2 separate regions of the Homo sapiens genome follow, and region 1 is linked to region 2. The links are contacts of gene promoters, found by promoter capture Hi-C in blood cells and fetal thymus (Javierre and others, 2016). All regions are on one chromosome and are shown on one strand. Each heading gives the region's core, a stretch centred on a gene start or on the middle of the fragment in contact. The rest is flanking DNA. Distances are from core to core; before and after follow the strand shown.

Evidence for each region. Contacts are between HindIII fragments. The CHiCAGO score rates a contact against its expected background, and 5 or more counts as called.
Region 1: a fragment that was not itself captured here is called in contact with the fragment with the promoter of PDCD10 in region 2 in 1 of 17 cell types (total CD4 T cells); the score reaches 6.2 in total CD4 T cells.

Annotation. Positions count from the first base shown.
Region 1 is chr3:161,231,031-161,237,694 of GRCh38, forward strand. NMD3 (NMD3 ribosome export adaptor) reads left to right here. Exons shown (of 16, transcript NM_015938.5): 5 at 2,369-2,449; 6 at 3,697-3,825; 7 at 4,092-4,182. Among named protein-coding and RNA genes, the nearest start is that of NMD3, 13 kb to the left of the region's middle. The HindIII fragment of the contact is 1,543 bases long and covers 3,031-4,573 here.
Region 2 is chr3:167,731,173-167,737,094 of GRCh38, forward strand. PDCD10 (programmed cell death 10) reads right to left here and starts at 3,720. Exons shown (of 9, transcript NM_007217.4): 1 at 3,490-3,720; 2 at 3,042-3,178. SERPINI1 (serpin family I member 1) reads left to right here and starts at 4,549. Exons shown (of 9, transcript NM_001122752.2): 1 at 4,549-4,651. RefSeq lists a silencer at 3,352-3,481 and an enhancer at 3,532-3,971. The HindIII fragment of the contact is 6,113 bases long and covers 1-4,824 here.

The DNA.
Region 1 (6,664 bases), core at 2,552-5,051, 6.5 Mb before region 2:
TTCTGTCAGCCACATAGTCAAGGCATAGAGCAGGCAGAGCACTGGATTTAACCAAATTTATAATTTAGCCTAGTGGCTAAGGTGAAATAAGAGAGGGAACAAGGAAATTGAGTGTGTACATGAGAATAATTTTGATTATTGATTTTGAAGCTAGTGAGGAGGAATGAGGAATAAAGTTGGTAGGATGAATGGATTGTCCATTATATTAGCTTGAAAGATATTTGGTGCCCAGGAACTAGAGGAAATAAGCTGGAAAGATGGGAGGTGGTAGTCAGGGAGTAGGATGTTTGGAATTGATAGTTTGGAGGGTTTGCAGTTACTGGTAATAGAGGCATATGAGTGACTGAGATAGGAAGGTGGATAATATTTTGGGAGAAGAAGAACTCAAAGAATGGAGTGAGAGGTCAGGGTATTGTGGGGATCACCTGTGTGGATATTGAAATCGCTAGGTATTAATATTGTTGGAAAGTGTGATGGTGAGCCAGAAGCTAAAATCTTTTGAGAAATGAAAACAAGTGATACAAAGATGAATAGATTACTATAAAAAAGAGAGTTGCGGGTGGTAGAGTCTAATGACTTTAGACTTAGAGCTGGGTATATTTGAGGAGGAGACAAGGAGAATGGTCTGTAATTAGCAATGAAGAGCAAGGACGATAGCTGTCTGGTGCCTGGTCCAGTGATAGGAAGAATCAGTTATCACTTTATATAGCTGCAGGGGAGAGAGAAATCAGGAGATCTAGAAGGTGAAGGGAATGTTCAGCAAAGTTGAGGATTTAGGAGATTTCATTGTTAATGAATGTTGAGCTCCGGAGGGCACAGTAGAAGGGTTTTAGGATTCGGGGAGGAGTGTTAGATGGGGACAGAATAGGGAATATGCATAACCATATGGAAATTGGAGTATGGGAAATAGGGGTGACTGAGGTGTCTGGGACTATGGTAAAGAAAGAAAGGGACTAATAAAGTTGATTAGTCATGGTTGTCTGAGGACACATAGTGCAGTGGTTGTGTTGGGGAATGCCGAGCAGGATGTCAAGGAGACTCTCCATTCCTGCAGGTGGAGGTTGGAGCTTGAGGGGAAGATCAGTCTTATTCAGTGCCTTTGGGGCTTTTTTTTTTTTTTTTTTTTTAACCACTGCTGATGGAGATTGAAGGAATAGGAATCTGCCTATCACCCTGTGTACCTGGCATCACTTGTTAACTACTAGGCTTTGTTTTAGGGAGGCCAGCTATATGAGGAGGGTTTTACTCTGGTGTGTTGAATCTTTGCATCTACACTAAAAGTGGCCAGTCTACTTTTTACCAGACAGTGCTTGATAAAAGTATAATCTGCTGCTGATACCTCTCAAATCTGTTAACTGCAGCCCAAATTTTTTTATAGATCTCCAGACCAATTGTATCTTACTGTTCACTGAAAAGTCCTCTTGGGTATCTCACAGATACTGTCTTAAACTGAAATGTCTGAAATCAAATGTAACATCTTTTTCTCATTATATCCATTGTTTATTTCGGTATAGGTAGTCACAAAAAGTGTACTGCCTAGTTGTCTAAGCAAATACTTGAGCATCATTCTGGAGTCTGTTCTCTTCCTCTTTTCCATATCCAGTTACCATTAAATCTTACAGATTTTTTTTCTGCATCACTTGGACTGTGCAGATAAATCTTACAGATTTTTATCTCCTAACTAGCCCTTGCATCTGCTTTTGTTATTTCCAGTGCCTCTCAGTTCAGATCATCTACAATCTGGCCCAGGTTATTACAGCAGCCTCCATTCTTGTTCTCCCACCCACCCCTTCTCCCCAAACACCCATTCTGGCCATTCTTGAGTTATATTCAGATCTTCACATATAGCAAACTGTTTTGGCCTATGCAGATGCTGCAGATTTAGTAGTGAGTTATAGTTGTGGATTTAGTATTCAGTGCATGCAACTTCTCTAATCAATGTCACTTCTTAAAAAAAGTCACAGAATATAGAGAGAATAATCCAAGTGGAAACTTTTGTTCATGAGGTTACTAATAAATAATGAGGTCACAAGGTCTTTGCTTTCCTCCAAAAAATATAATTTCCTTTTAAAGGACAATGTACTTTTTTTTTTTTTTTAAGGGAAAAGAATTTTTTTCCTATGCAAATACTTTAATTTTTGCTTAAATTATATCAGTTGCATTAATATAGTCATTGGGTTGTCCTTTGATTTGCTGCTGTTGTTACGTAACCAATGATTAATCTTTTTTTGTGATGATGGTGTGTAGTATGCTGATCACAGATTCCTTAAGCATCTTATGAAATCTGCTTATTGATGATTTGTTCTTTCGTGTTTTTTTTCCTCCTAGGTGAGAACTTACGTTTCTTTTTGTTTGTGTTTTATTGAAGGTACGGCTTGTAGATGCAGGCTTTGTTTGGACTGAGCCTCATTCTAAGAGACTTAAAGTTAAACTGACTATTCAGAAAGAGGTAAGCAGTACATAATTTTCTCAGCATGGTTAAAGTGCAGGTAGTGAAAATGAAGACCCAGTGATAAGTTATTTTATGGCTTGAACAGCTTAAAAGAAAAAGAGTACACTCAATTTTAGCTGTTTGTTTTCTTTTGAGCATCTGTACAAATAATTAGATCACTAGTAAGAGTAGTCATTGCTTCTGATTAGCAGACTTACTTTTCCAGAGTTATTTTTATTAGGAAAGGATTGAAGTAAAAACATGGTCTAAGGTACTGATCCTCAAACTTGGCTGATCATTGTAATGACTCATCATAACTGAAGCAAAAATTCTCTGTATGTGAGGCCGGGAATCTATAAGTAGGTTGAGTATCCCTTATCTGAAATGCTTGGGACAAGAAGTGTTTCAGATTTTGGATTTTTTGGATTTTGGAATTTTGCATTATACTTAACTGGTTGAACATCCCTAATTCAAATACAAAATGTTCCAGTGAACATTTTCTTTGAGTGTCATTTAGAAACTCAAGAAGTTTCAGATTTTGAAGCTGAAATTTCAGATTCTGGGTTTTTGGATTTGGAATGTTCAATCTGTATTTAAAAAGCTTCCCATGTGATTTCTGATCAGTTATGTTTGGGAATCATTAAATTAAGGAATTTTTTTTTTGAGAAGTTTTCCTTATTTTTTTCTTCTAAGGATGATTTTTCTATGTAAACATGTATAGGCTGGGCATGGTGGCTCACACCTGTGATCCCAGCACTTTGGGAGGCCAAGGTAGGCAGATCACTTGAGCCCTGGAGTTCGAGACCCCATCTCTACTAAAAATACAAAAGTTAGCTGGACGTGGTGGTGTGTGCTACTTGGGAGGCTGAGGTGGAGAATCACTTGAGCCCAGGAGGCAGAAGTTGCAGTGAACCAAGATCGTGCCACTGTACTCCAGGCTGGGCAACAGGCAGAGTGAGACCCTGTCTCAAAAAAAATTATATATATATATATATATGTAAAATATACACAGAATATTCTCACAACCACTTCAGCTAAAGGAAAATTTGAAATGCTAATCTAATAAATCTTAGGAATTAAATCTGTATACCGTTCTTGAAATAGTATAACTTGTTTTTATGACTTTAAATTTGAGGACATTTGATTGATGTCCTCAAAGCATTAATGGAAAAAGTTTTAAATTAAATATTAAAGGTTCTTCTTTAAAGAAAATATTTGTTATTAAACAAAACCAAAAGAATGAAGGAGTGTAATTGTTTTATCAGGTGATGAATGGTGCTATCCTTCAACAAGTGTTTGTGGTGGATTATGTTGTTCAGTCCCAAATGTGTGGAGATTGCCATAGAGTAGAAGCTAAGGATTTCTGGAAGGCTGTGATTCAAGTGAGGCAAAAGGTAATGAGAGAAGATGATGAGTGAGTCCTACATCTTATATTTCGTCTTTGTTAATTATAACTTTTCCTTCTTTCTAAATCCAGGGATAGTCTGGGTCCCTGAAGCATTCACCTTTGGAAATAGATCATTATTACATTTTAGATAATCTTTAAAGATTGTTATTGTTTGAAAAATCAGTATGCTCTATCTGTAGATAGTATGTGTGTCCTATACCTATAAATGGCTTTTTTGTGGGGCATTTATTGATCAAATAATTTATATTTTAGACTTTGCATAAAAAAACTTTCTACTATCTGGAACAGTTAATTCTGAAATATGGAATGCATCAGAATACACTTCGTATCAAAGAGATTCATGGTGAGTTAAAACTCAAAAGCATTTGAAATTATGTCAGATTTTTATTTCAACATACCTAAGTAATCTTATATTTACTGATAATATCTGGATTAGTACTGTCCAAAAGAACTTTCTGTTAGGAAAAAAAAAAAAAACAACTTAATTCTTTATCTGCACTGTCCAGTATGGTATAGTCACTAGCCACATTTGGCTGTTGAGTACTTGAAATGTGGCTAGAGCAACTGAGAAACTGAATTTTTAATTTTCTGCTAATGTCAAACATAATTATCTTTTTATGTTTCATACCTAAGTATGATATTTCTTGAGGTTTCTGTTTGATACATATGCATACATACTTCTGTCCAATCTTGCTCTCAGTTAAGTGAGTGACATTGAAAAGAGTTAGAAAGAAAGCTTGCCTTCTTTCTACCTAGCATTTAATTAACCTCTAGAAGTTTTTTAAGAACTTGCCCATTAAGCCATCCAATTTGATATCTCCTAAGGGACGTCTTTTCAGTTTCTTTTATGATATTCACCTCTCAGGTATTCTACCCCTTGAGTCAATTTTAATACCATTTTCCAAGAAAAACCATTTCATCTAGCTTTTTAGATTCTTGGTATAAAATTGAACAAATAAAATAAATCTCATCCGTAACTGTAGTTATGTCCTCTCTATTGTTCCTAATGTTTATCTTTTCTCTTTCTACTCACCTCACCTTAGACTAGCTACTTTTATCTATTATGTTAGTTTTTTCAAAAAACTATTTTTAGTTTTAAACAATCTTTTTATTAATTTTGTTTTTAACACTAATTCCCTCAACTCTATTTAGTTCTGTTTTGTTTTAATTAATTGAAAGCTTAGTTTATTTTTAATTTCTAATACATATATTTAAGATCATAAATTTTCTTCTGAGTACTATAATGGGTCTGTAGCTGGTACTTATAGCTACCTTTTTCCACTGCCCATTGCATATTTTATTTGCCCTCAGCAAGCACCTCAGCTGTTTCATTCTTTTGGGTACATACTTAGGTGTGGAATTACCAAGTCATATGGTAAATTTATGTTTATATATAAAAAACTACCAAACTGCTTCAAAGTGGCTGTACCATTTTACATTCCTGCCGCCAATATTTCTCTGTATCCTCCTCAACACTTGTTCTTATATTTTTGTTTATAGCCATTCTAGAGGGTGGTATGAAGTGGTATCTCATTGTGGTTTTAATTTCCATTTTGCTAATGACTAACGATGTTGAGCATATTCTGGATACAAGTCTCTTACTGCATATATGGTTTGCACATATTTTCTCCTAGTGTGTAGGAGAAAATTCACACTCTATATTCTTAATGGTGTCCTTTGAATTGCAAAAGTTTTAAATTTTGTTGAAGTCCAGTTTATCAAGTTTTTTCTTTTAATTGTGGTTTTGGGGTTATGCTTAAAAACTGTTTGTCTAATCAAGGTCACAAAGATTTTCTCCTATAGTTTCTTTCAAGTGTTTTATAGTTTTAGGTCTTATATATTTAGGTCTAACTCTTGAGTTAATTTTTGTGCAGAGTGTGAGATAAGTGTCTAAATTCATATTTTTCTATGTGGATATTCTTCATCCCAGTGAAAACTCTGTCCTTTCCTCAGTGAATGCCTTGGGTCTTCTGTCAAAGATCTATTGACTGTAAATGTAATGGTTTATTTCTAGAATCTGAAGTCTGCTCCCATTGATCTATATATCTATCCTTATATTAGTACCATGCTATCTTGCATACTTACTAAAGTTAGTGAGTTTTGACATTAAATGTGTAATGTTCATTTTCTTCAAAATTGTTTTGGCTATTCTGGGTAATTTTAGTATTGGCTGTTTTGGTAATTATATTTAGTTATTTGCAAGAATATCTTTAATATTTCTCAGCTAGGTAGGTTTGCTTTTGGCTATTCCTTTCTTGATTTCTAGTGCTACTGTTTTATGATGAGATAATGTTGTCTTTAGTAATTTCTACTGTTTAGGATTTATTGAAATTCTTTTTCTTTTTAAAATCTTAATACATGATTTTTAAATGAATGTTTTATGAATGTTTGATAAAATATGTATTCTTTCTTAGAACTGTGTTCTATAATCTCAGTTAACTCGACCTTGATAGTTGGTTATTCAAGTTCTGTGAATTGTTACTATTTTTTGTCAATATGATTATTTTGGTTTTGAGAGAGTCCTATTCTAGTCCTTCACAATGATTGTATGTGTTAATATTTGTTAATTTTTTCTTTTCTTTTTCTAGTACTTTTTGTTTTCTATCTCTCAGATAGTTTCCTGTTATCTTCTTGGTAGATTATTCCATTTATTACATAAAATAACTTTCTTTTTTTTTTTTTTTTTTTGACATGAAGTCTTGCTCTGTCACCCAGGCTGGAGTGCAGTGTTGCGATCTGGGCTCACTGCAACCTCCGCCAACTGGATTCAAGCGATTCTCCTGCCTCAGCCTCCCAAGTAGCTGAGATTTGGCACATGCCACCAC
Region 2 (5,922 bases), core at 2,470-4,969:
CTACCTAGAGGAAATAAAGGTTTTTAGGGCAAAACGAGACAACATTAGGGAAGAAGAGTCCATTAGAAGTTTCTTCCATGTCTATATTTTGTTATAATGAATATCGCTTGCAAAAAGCAGGACAGTGATAAGTCTCTAAAATGCTGTGTTACACAGCAATTCTGCGGCAAATGAAAGTGATTCCTTTATCATTTCCACTTAGAAAATTAATCCTGATTTCAGAGACCTCCAAAAAGAACAAACATTTTTCCACAATTTATATTAAAATTCTGTCAATGACTCCTTTACATATAACCTAAATTGCCTAAGCATTATGGCTCATTTGAAAGTTCTTATATACTTCAATCCAGAAAGCATATCCGCTTTATTCATTTCTCTATTTCTGTCCCCAGAGAAGTGCTGGAAGCACTGTGCATGAATACACTCCTTCATTCATTCAGCAAATATTTACTGAACCCTTACAATGTGCCAGGTACTGCGTAAGTAGTGGGGTAAAACATGACAAATGAGAGGGCCCTGCTCAGGGAGCTTATAGTCCAGTGAGGAGACAGTATTTGTCAAATAAATACAGAAATAATTAAGTTTCTATTATGATGATGCCACAAAGGAGTACAGAGTATGGTGAATACATGGCGGAAACCTATTCTGATTTTGGGAAGGCGGGCAAGGCTCCCCTGACGAACGATATTTAAATTGAGACGTGAAAACTGACTACCAGGTGGCCACATTTAGGTAGGCGTGAGGGGAACAGTCCAAGGAGTGAGACGGAATATGTAAAGGCCACCAAGTCAGGAAGCAGCTTATGTATGTAGTAACTGAAAGGCATGGTAAATGAGAAAGGCTGGAGATAAGGACGGAGAGCTGGATAGGAGAAGAGATAAATTTTTAGTGTTAAACAGAGTAAGAAGGTAATAGTATTTGAATATTTAAGTCACGTTAAGTCTTCTTCTCATGTAAATAATCTAAGGGAACTAAGTCTTTACTCCAAAATATTAAAGATCTGTAGTCAGAAGATCTCGATTTTGTCTTACTCCCACCAGTTACAAGTCACTTAACCAACTTGAGCCTCTTCATTCTCTTTGTAAATATTATCTTACCTACTCAGACTACAATAATAAACAGCCCCTATTCTTACAGACCTTACATCCTTAAGAGAAACAGACAGATGTATAATATACGGAAGACATCCCAAGTCCTCTAAGAAATAATGTCCAAAAGCTGACATAAGGCTCCTGCAAAGTTCAAAATGAGAAGAAATGCAGACACTGGTGAGCTGCAAACCACGTGTACACATAACTCTGTGAACTCCTAATTATCCAACGTGCAGAGATCTAAAGTGACAACAGTACCGCAGCATGTGACTGAAAGATGATAACAACAATACAAACATTAATCCACCATCCGAATAGAAGAAATATCAAAACTATAATTGGCCTCAGAGATAAAGAGTAGTGGCAGAAATGAACCAAGAACAAAATCTAAAACACACTGAACAAATGCATTACATTAACTAATTTCCAAAATTTCCTCATAGTTCAAAAGCTCTTTCCATAATGACAGAGTTACATGCCAAAGGTTAGAACTTATTTCATACCTCCTTCAACAAAAGGCAAATACCTACATTGTCATCTAGAAAACAGATTAATATTCTTGCTTTACCATCACTGACTCATGTTCAGTTTACGGTCTACTTACATCACTGCACCTTTCTTAATCCAGCACAAAGTCAGTTATCACCACATAATTTTCCATTTGTTTAACTGGGTCTTCCTTGTCTGTGTACTACATTACTTATGGTACATTATTCCTGATTTTACTTCATTCTATAGTATCATACTTTTTCTATTTTAAAAATCGTATTAATTTCCAGACCATCTTAATTTCAACCATCAGGGAAGATAATACCTCTGTTCCGAAAAAATGTTTTTCCATTAAAAAGTGAAGCACATTGTTGATAATATAGTAACTGCAGAGTACATTCAAAATTCAGCATAGTCTGATGATCAACTTATATATAAAACAGTAAGCTATGATTTATTACATGTTAAGAGTAAGCCATGATTTATTACATGCTAACCTGTATGGATATAAAGTTATCACAAATAAATTCTGCCATCAATGAACATACTCTAACAATTCTATTAAAAACTTATCCAATAATAATAGTCATGAGCTATAACTGGTCATAATCATTATAGAGGATAAGACTTGCATAAAGGCACTACTTTCTGCAAGATATGAACTATACGTGTACTGTTTTTTCATTCTTCAATGTAAAGTAAGAATGAATTGAAAGTCACAGTTGATGCTAAGAAAAATAAAAATATGCAAGAGCCCAATTTTATTATTTGCAGACACACACACAAATACAGCCCAGAGTCAAGAAAATGGGGGAAAAGTAAAGTCTCAAAAAAGACGATGTTACCTCCAAGAAATGCAAAATACCTTCTTTTCTAGTAATGGGCACACTAAACTCTCCTAACGCTACATTATTTGAAAAAAGTGTAGTTTTGTGAAAGAATTCCAATCCCACTATTATCAGTTTTACAAAATGAGAGTAAAAACAGTCCTAAGGTAGAAAAAGAAAAGAATATTCTTCTAAGGATGGGATATATTGTTTAACTGTTGTTCTCCCATCCTATTACCTACCCGTAAAAATGAACTGTGAGAGTAGAGTCTATCATTTAATACACCCCTAAAAAAAGGGGAAAAATCTGTAAAAGTTGAAACTGGCCATTTTTATTTTTTCCAAAAGGATCTTTCCTTTATTGAGGAATTTCACTCCGGTTCAAGAAACAACTTTTTATCTCACAATGGCTTCTTAGATATACTATATAAAATACATTTACTTTGTAACTTCCTCCACCCTTTTCAAAAAGCACAACCAACGTCCCTACTCTAAAGCTGGACTCGAACCGAACTAGATTCAGAAAGTCTGTCCCTACGTGTGTGACCTTGGGCACGTCATATAATCCCTCGGTTTCCTCATCAGCATCCCAAAATGAAAGCGCTCTGAAAGCAGTAAAGGAGTAAAAACATACCTTAGGTATGACACCTAAGAGGGTCAAGTCTTTCTGTTTAAGGCAAAATTATCTCCTTAGAGGGCCACATCATTAAACTGGAACTGAATCCGTAGACCCCAACATTTGTCTCTTCCTTCTTCCAGTGCTCCTCTTCCCTCAAAGGGCATAACCCGAGTCACCCCCAAGAGCCGACTCCCAAGCACCCTTTCCTTCCTCCTCCCTTTTCTCTTACTTACAAAGCAGGGGGAAAACAGCAGCCTCACCTCTCGGTCCGAAGCCACACCTTCAAAGGACCCCACCCCAGGCACATCCGCCCTGTCCCCTCTCCCGGGGCACCAGGGGCCAACCTCGCCCTTCCCCTCCCGCCCCCACCTAGAGGAGACTTCCTGGAGGCGTTCGGGCCCAAGCCGGCAGGCGGCATTTACAAACCCGCTTTACGCCACTCGCGTAGGGTAACCTCGCTTACGCCCGTAGGGCCCCGCTCTCAGCCCCGTCCGCTCCGCCTGCCAGAACCAAGCCCAAGTGCCTCAGCCATGGCCCCTGCGTGACCCTAGACCTCTTCTGCTCGGTGCAGAGCTACGGGGACTGGGACAGAACAGCTACACCTTACCAGCAACTGAGGCACTGACTTCACTTCCCACCTTGCAGCCCTCTTCAACTCCCGGATCAATTCACTCCGGCGACGCCGGAAGGACCCAAGAGGAACCAGGCGTTGTCCGGAATCCTGCCCAGCCGGAGTCGTGCAGAGGCTTATGGGGACTCGTAGTCCCGCTCGCCGGCGTTGTCCGCAATTCCTGCAATCGGAAGACTACACTTCCCGGCAGGCCATGCGGGGGATCCTGAGGCGATGGGTGGTGACACTTCTAGCCAATAGTAGGAGAATTCCCTGCCTTTGCGGGAGGAGGTGAGATGAAGAGAGATGGTGCACGGAAAGGAGAGGAAGGGCGGGGCAAGCCCTCACCTGCGCCAATCAGGGTGCGGAGTAGGCCCCGCAGGCGCCTCACCCATTGAGGGGGCGGGCTGACAGAGCAGAGGAAGGAAGGGGGTGAGGGGCCTGTGGTGGGGATCCTGGGGCTGTCGGGCTGAGTATGCCGTGTGGGTGGAGAGGAAGCCTCGGGGAAATCGCCCAGGTGAAGGGAGGGCTTGGTGTGGGGACTTGCACTGGGCAGAGGGGCAGCTTCCCTGAGAGCAGCTAAGCCCCAGGCACACCGGGCATCCGGACACACAGGTCGGGGAAGGATAGGCTGAGCCGGGGCTCCCAGCAGAGACGCCTGGGTGGGGCAGGAGGCCGCTCCAGGTGTGAGCCACAGAGGAGGGGAGAGGGACCCCCACGGGAGTGGAAGTGGCAGAGCAGCTGCAGAAGTGCAGGGAGCGGAAAGGTACCAGGGCAGCTGCTTTCCGCTGCCTCCGGTCCGGGCAGCTGCAGAAACAGCAGGGGGAGGAGCAACAGCTGCCAAATTCGCCAACTAGAGGAGGGAGAGGCGGAGCTTGGGTCCCTGTAGAAGCCAGAGGCGCAGTCTGGACTGTAGTTTCCCGGGAGAGACGAAAGCAGGAACGAGAGCGGAGCGGAGCACAGTCCGCCGAGCACAAGCTCCAGCATCCCGTCAGGGGTTGCAGGTGTGTGGGAGGTAAGCGTGGGTCCTTCTTCGGGGCGTCTGCACTGCCCTGGAGAAAACGTCTTCCAATAGGAATTACATCAAGACACAGCTAAAAGAGTCCGCGTTGGGTTAGGAAACCGGTGCAAAACCTCTCGGGTGAAAGATTTACATTTTTCGACTTTAAGGGCAAAAAAGCAAAAGGAAGCTTGACTCTGGGTATAAAGGGCGTGGTTAGTGTTTTTGGTTTGAGTTGCACCAGTAAAACTGTTCTGGGAGATCTGAAGATTGAGAAAAATCCTGCTAATTGAGGACGAGGTGGATGTTATCTGGTGGATGTTATAGGTGCGTAGCCTATAAAAAGCAAAAATTTTGCTATTGATATAGAATAACTTCTGAACTATTTCACTAGGAAAATAACTTTGCATTCTTCTTCAGTGTCTACCCTTTACGTTGGTTTATCAGATTGTCCTGCTACCGACCTGTTATCCAGGGTGGTTATTTTGCAGTTTCCTAGAATTGCAAGAAATCCGTATTAAAGAAGCAAGTGCAGGCAGGAATAGTCAGGATAGGATGGGCTCTGACTTAATCTATCAAAAGTATAACTTTTGCCAGCAATAATGTAAAAATGAATTTTAATGAATGGATAGTTAGCTTTCTTCCCAGTGGCTCTGGAATATTGGAACAAAGACCTGGATTCAGCCTACAATGGAAACATATGGTGTACCTCACTGCTGCTCGTTAGTTTCTCATTTGTGTCCGATAATATGTGTACATTTTAAAAACGAGTACATGGAAAGCTGTGTGGGAATCTTTTCTCTGGGTAGAGAGTATGTGCTGAAGGACTACCCTTAATATGTGTTATGATAGTGGGTTCAGTTTAAAACACATGTAGTGTCATAAAATAATAGTTTATTCTCGGTATTAAACTATATGTGCATTCAAAGCAACGTTAATTGTAATACCTATGGATGGAAATAAGTTGTAATGCTGGGTAAAGATGAAAGTCTCACCTACCTTTGTGTAATTATGACAAAATTACAGCCTTTTATTTTTAGAGAAGTAGTAAGAAGCTATTTTCCTAGTTCATTTTCATTTTGTTACAGAGGTTCCCAGATTACATGGCTTTTAATCATAGTAGCATATTGCAGCAAATTTTGCTCTGAAATGCTTTCATTGTGACAGTTGCATATTTCAGAGTCTGTCTCAATACTTTATGTTTTTTTTTAATAACCAGGGTCAATAAAATGGAGTAATTGTCTTGTTTTCTCCTATTTCTATGCTTTCCTGAGTTCTCGGGATTT